2 separate regions of the Homo sapiens genome follow, and region 1 is linked to region 2. Evidence: promoter capture Hi-C in 16 types of primary human blood cells and fetal thymus (Javierre and others, 2016). All regions are on one chromosome and are shown on one strand. The core of a region is centred on a gene start or on the middle of the fragment in contact, and the rest is flanking DNA. Distances in the headings are between cores, read along the strand shown.

Region 1 (2,849 bases), core at 24-2,523, 410 kb before region 2:
CACCATGTTTGGGGACCATTTTAAAAAGCAAAACCTCCCAGCACTTTGGGAGGCCGAGACAGGTGGCTCATGAGATTAGGAGATCGAGACCATCCTGGCTAACGTGGTGAAACCCCGTCTCTACTAAAAATACAAAATTTATCCAGGCGTAGTGGTGCACATCTGTAGTCCCAGCTACTCGGGAGGCTGAGGCAGGAGAATCGTTTGAACGCGGGAGACGGAGGCTGCAGTGAGCCGAGATTGCACCACTGCACTCCAGCCTGGGAGACAGAGCAAGACTCTACTCTGTCTCAAAAGAAAAAAAAAAAAGAAAAAAAAAAAAGAGGAAAATCACCAACAGAAATAACAAAAAGGTAAAGAAAATGTGGCACAAAATAGAGTGCAAGAAAACCCCACTCGTTTGCAGTATGATAGGTAAAACAAGAGGGCAGAGAATCGCCTTGCTTGACCTCAGCTGGGAATGTGCGACTGGAGGCTCAGTCTTTTTACAGCCTCTTTTTACATGTCTATGAATGGCTGTGAAAACACAATAGGTATCGATTTGGGGCTTGCACACATATTTTAGGAATAAATAAATTTGCAAATATGGAATTCATAAATAACGAGGACCCACTGTGTGTGTGTTTATAAGTATATATTTATATATTTAATGTGTGTGTGTGTTCGTGTATGTTAAAACCTAGCACATAAAGAAGGGGATTATAAACACAGGGGCTATATTCCACACCAGGCAGGACCAACAACGATAATCACTCTGTTACCTATTTCCACAAGAAATGAAATCACTCTAAGATTTTAGAGACTTTAAAATACTTTTTGTCAAAATATTCGAGAGGTCAGATATATAAATCACATTCACACCACACAGTGTTCTATCAGCTTGCATGCCCTTCTTATCTCTTCAACAGTGTCCTCTCTATTTCATCTCCTATTTATTTTTATTTATTTCTATTGTTTATTTTATCTCAGTTTTTTTTAATTCGTCATTTCCATAGGTTTTTTGGGACCAGATGGTGTTTGGTAAGTTCTTCAGTGGTGATTTGTGAGATTTTTGTGCACCCATCACCTGCGCAATATACACTGAACCACTGAATCCAATTTGTAGTCTGTTATCCCTCACCCCCTTCCTACCCTTCCCCCCTGAGTCCTCAAAGTCCATTGTGTCATTCTTATGCCTTTGCATCCTCATAGCTTAGCTCCCACTTACGAGCGAGAACATACGATGTTTGGTTTCCCATTCCTGAGTTACCTCCCTTAGAATAATAGTCTCCAATCCCATCCAGGTTGCTGCTAATGCCGTTAATTCATTCCTTTTATGGCTGAGTAGTATTCCATCACCTATATATCACAGTTTCTTTATCCACTTGTTTATTGATGGGCATTTGGGTTGGTTCCACATTTTTGCAACTGTGAATTGTGCTGCTATAAATAATGCGTGTGCAAGTATCTACTTTGTATAATGACTTCTTTTCCTCTGGATAGATATCCAGTAGTGCCCTTATTTCAGAACAGTAAAATAAGTTTTCCTTTTTTTCTGGGCCAGAACCTTTCTGCCACACTTTATTCTTCTCAGAGTCTCAGAATGTCTAACAGCCTCGGGGCCCATGTGAGCATTTTCTTTTCCCCAAATACAGTAAGTTCTTCTTAAGAAATTATTTATTTTCTGCCTCATTAGAAGTGTGTCATTTAGTATCATATGGAAAAGCTGTTTTTTTACAATCATGATTGCAACCATGACCCATTTATTCTGGAATCCTATCATCCCATATTTCTGAGACTTGTTCATTTCAGGATGTGTATGCTGCATCATGAAAGATTGTATTTACAACAATGTCAGCAGTGTTTGAGCACCTATAATGTTCAAATCTGTATGCTAGTTGTTGATTGGGGTCATGAATTTGAATATGCACAGTCCTGCCCTTGAATGTACCACTGAATGGGGAAAACACACATTAAATTAAATAGTTCCTCTGCAAAGCAGATTATGAACAATGTGAAGGTAGAGGGATGAAGGAACAAAGATGGTGCTGAACCATTAAGTGTGGGAGGCTGCAGATTATGGAGACCCCCCTGGGGGGTTGAGACTTGGAGGGAGATCAGAGCTTTGCTTAAAGATGGCTCTCCTTTATATCTTAGGAATGATGTCTTGGTAATGCTAACTTAGTTTGGGCTTCTTCCTCTTAGTTAGGTTTCCTCCAAAGTGATGCCTGAGACATGACTTGGGTAAAAGTAGTTTATTTAGGAAGTGACCCCAGAAAGCAGGAGAAAGGGAGTAAAGGGAGTGCAATGGGGAAGGAGAAAAAGCAAAATGAGAGAGCGTTATTGAGGTTGCTGCGGCAGGGAACAAGAACTTGATCCTACCTGAATCTTTGAGAAATGTACAGATATGACCTTGAATTGTCCACTCAAAGGACAGGAAGCTGGAAAAGTTATCCTCTGTTTTCAGTTTCACATTAGTTGAATTATGTTCCTGTGATTCTTAACTCCCCTGTATTTCTGGATGCAATTATGGGATGGTCAAATTGGCTCTTGTGACATCAGAAATGGCACTTGGGCAGGAAGCAGAAGAGAGGAGAGTGTATTTGAAGAAGGGTCACCTCCAGGTAAGTATAAGCTTCCATTGTAATGTGCACCAGAGCTGCAGCTACAACCAGGGAAGGCTGAAAGGCTATGGCACAGAGCAGCAAAGATACCTGCTAGAAGTACAAAAGATGTCCAAAGGTGTTCAGGATTGGAAGCAAGGAAGCCAGTTAGAATATGAAAGTAATGAAGGCTTTATCCATTCGATGTCTTTCCAACCTTTTCTGTCTGCCTGGAAGACTTTTCCCTCCTCACTGTTAGCCTAAACT
Region 2 (2,888 bases), core at 52-2,551:
CACCGCCTGCGTCAGGGACCCCTGGCCCGAGTAAGCCCAGACTGACGAGCCTGACACTTTAATGGGGTGCGGGAAGTGCAAAGGAGGGGAGGCCCGGGAAAGGGGGGAGTGGCCGAGAGGGGATGGTAGCTGCGAGGAGGTAGAGAAGGACCCTCCTTCTCCAGGGTCCCAGCTTGTCGGAGCTGGAAGCCCAGATTGCTTAACCCTTTGCATTCCCAGCAAGAAGCGACTTTTTCACTTAGAAGTAAAACGCGCTGGGCTATTCCAGTTTTTCTCCCCACAGTGTGTGTGTGTGTGTGTGTGTGTGGGAAAAAAAGAAGGGAAGGGGTGGGGCGGCTGTGCAGAATGCATTTTCCTTACATTGGGAATTCTTGTTTCCTAACTCTGGAGCCCCTCTGCTGCTCCGGAAGATGCAAAATGGAAAAGTACATCTGAGGACGTGCAGCCTTTCCCAGGCAGAGAGGCTACCTGTGTCCCCAGAAAGGCAGCGGATTTCTGGCGAGAGCCGCAGAAATGGGAAAAGAGGGCTATGTTGCTAAGCCTGACAGTGACCTGAAATATTCCCTGATCTTCAGTCTGTTGGAAATTTTTAAACTTCCAACTTTTCTATCGAAACTGGCTTAAAAATTTTAAAACAATTATAAGGATGTCTTCCTTCTCCCTGGCCTGTTGGAGGACCTTCATCCTTCACCAAAACGCGCCAGTGTAACGTACCTTGTTCAGCTCTTGGTCATAAAGTCGTCCTCAGCCTGTCTGTGTGGTCCCGGAGGGTCGGTGGCGGGCAGTTTCCAAAATTGAGGTAATAAGAGATCAGATGAATTTGAGACGACCGGCCAAAAAAAATAAGAAATTTAAAAACAACATTTAAAAAGGATAGGGGAGTCTTAAATGTTTGATTCTTCCCCACTTTAAAAAATAATTTCACTAATATTCTCTTTATGTTTCCGTTGCACTTCAGTCTAATTCTTAAAAAAATTATGCTTTAAAAATAAATTAACTTTTCTTTTTTCTTTTCTTTTCTTTTTTTTTTTTTTTTTTTTTTGGGCTTCAGTCTTTCTGCCCCCGATAACAGAAAATCTCTTTTTCGTCTTAAAAAAAAAAAAAAAAAAAAAAAAAGCCTGTGGAAGACTCAGCAGAACCCAGGAAGCGCAGAATTGGGAGAAAAGTCTTTGGCTGGGGCTGTTTCAAGTCTCTGGTTCAATGGGCTGCTCGAAGCCAGGACTGGGTAATTCTTTCCAGACGTCTTGACTTCTCCTTCCCCGCCGTTGTTGCCCTTCTGCCTCCTCCAACTTAAGGGGGTCTTAACAAGTGAGCTGGTGGGTGTTTTAATAGGGCGGCGGAGGGAGTGGGGGGGTGAGGGAAGTGGAGAGGGAGGTGTGGACTGGGGAACCCTGAGGGGAGGGAACTGGGAGCGCGGGCGGGCGGGCGAGCGGGAGGCGGGGAGGGGGAGAGGGAGAGAGAGAAATTGGCCATTCAAAGCCTTCTCTGAGCTACAGGCCGGTTCTAAACTCCAATGAATTCAATTAACTTGATTGCTAACGTGTGCAGAGAAATGCAAGACACATAGGGGGCCACCACCTGATTCCTTACTTTCCTCTGGCGGCGGAGGTGGGAGCCCTCGCCTCTTGGATTTCCCTGAACTCCCGCGTTACAAGTTCCCTCCAAGCGATAAACTCCCTGTGGCGCTGAAGTAATTTGTTTTAAAGCCAAATGGTGCCCTTCAGCTAAGTAACCGACCCAAGGAGGAACAGTTGGGAGGGGTGTGTGCACGTGTGTGTGTGTGTGTGTAAGTGTGTGCGTGTGTGTGTGTACCTGGAGCCTTCGACAGCCGGCTGGGACTCTAAAAAGATCGCGCTGGTCCACCACTTGTTAACCCTTTCTTCCCGCCAACTCAAAAGTTTCTGAGCTGACGTCAAGTGTCAAAGCCTTTCTCATAAAGAGGTTTCTGCCGTGGGTGGGCGGAAAACATAGAAAAGTAATTATATGTATATTTTTGCTCAATCTGGTCCCCTAACGTAAACATACTCAAACAGCGCGCATTAAAAATAAAATAATAAAAATTGTTTTCTGGAGGACTTATATTTAGCCATCTTGAAGGAAATGGCTTAACTGGCTTTTGCTTTTTGCAAGCCTTCTGCAAAGTTGACGAGGACAAATATGTCTTGCTTGGAGATGGCCTTTCCTCGTCGTTTTCACAATGCCCCAAGGCTGGGTAGAGTTCGTTTTTTGGTTACTCCTCCCCCCACCACTCCGCCTCCTTTCTTTCTCTTGGACCTTGCCAACAAGCCTGCTGATGACTGAAAATGGACAGTAGGTGGCACTGTTGAGGAAAAAATGAGAGTGACTTTACAAATTAACCAACTTGGTCTTGGGAGATTGCGCTGAAATTGTTATAGGGTAAAACAGATTTTTCTTTCTTTCTTTTTTCCTTCTTCCCCTTCCAAGGATCTTCTGAGGGGTGGACTTCTTTGGAACTCGACAGGACCTTGAAGACTGGGTTCTTAGTCCTTATCACATATATGGGCTATAATGAATAAGTCTAAACAGAAAAGTCGAATAAACTGGAAATGATGCTTTCATCACGTCGCACAAGGTGTAGTGTTGGGGGATGTGATTAGGGGTCAAGCATTTTAGTGCAATACCAGGTAGTCAGCCATCCCAGTCCCCAGGGGCTGACCTGCAAAGTACTGCGCGTTTCCGCCCCCTTCCCCCCGCCCCCCCCCGCCACGCCACACACACACACAGCGGTTACACCTCTGGGAAGCATTACCTTGGCCTGATGACTTCACGCTGCTCAGGGGACCCCACTGATTTCCCCCAGCAAACCTTCCTGCTTCAGCCTTTGTTTGAACTCCGCCTTAGGTGGTTCAACTCTTGGAGAGACTGGC

Evidence for each region. Contacts are between HindIII fragments. The CHiCAGO score rates a contact against its expected background, and 5 or more counts as called.
Region 1: a fragment that was not itself captured here is called in contact with the fragment with the promoter of HAS2 in region 2 in 1 of 17 cell types (monocytes); the score reaches 5.6 in monocytes.

The regions. Positions count from the first base shown.
Region 1 is chr8:121,229,230-121,232,078 of GRCh38, forward strand. No RefSeq gene overlaps it. Among named protein-coding and RNA genes, the nearest start is that of HAS2, 410 kb to the right of the region's middle. The HindIII fragment of the contact is 2,678 bases long and covers 1-2,612 here.
Region 2 is chr8:121,640,139-121,643,026 of GRCh38, forward strand. It overlaps HAS2 (hyaluronan synthase 2), which reads right to left and starts at 1,302. Exons shown (of 4, transcript NM_005328.3): 1 at 715-1,302. It also overlaps HAS2-AS1. RefSeq lists an enhancer at 1,961-2,584. The HindIII fragment of the contact is 9,649 bases long and covers 1-2,888 here.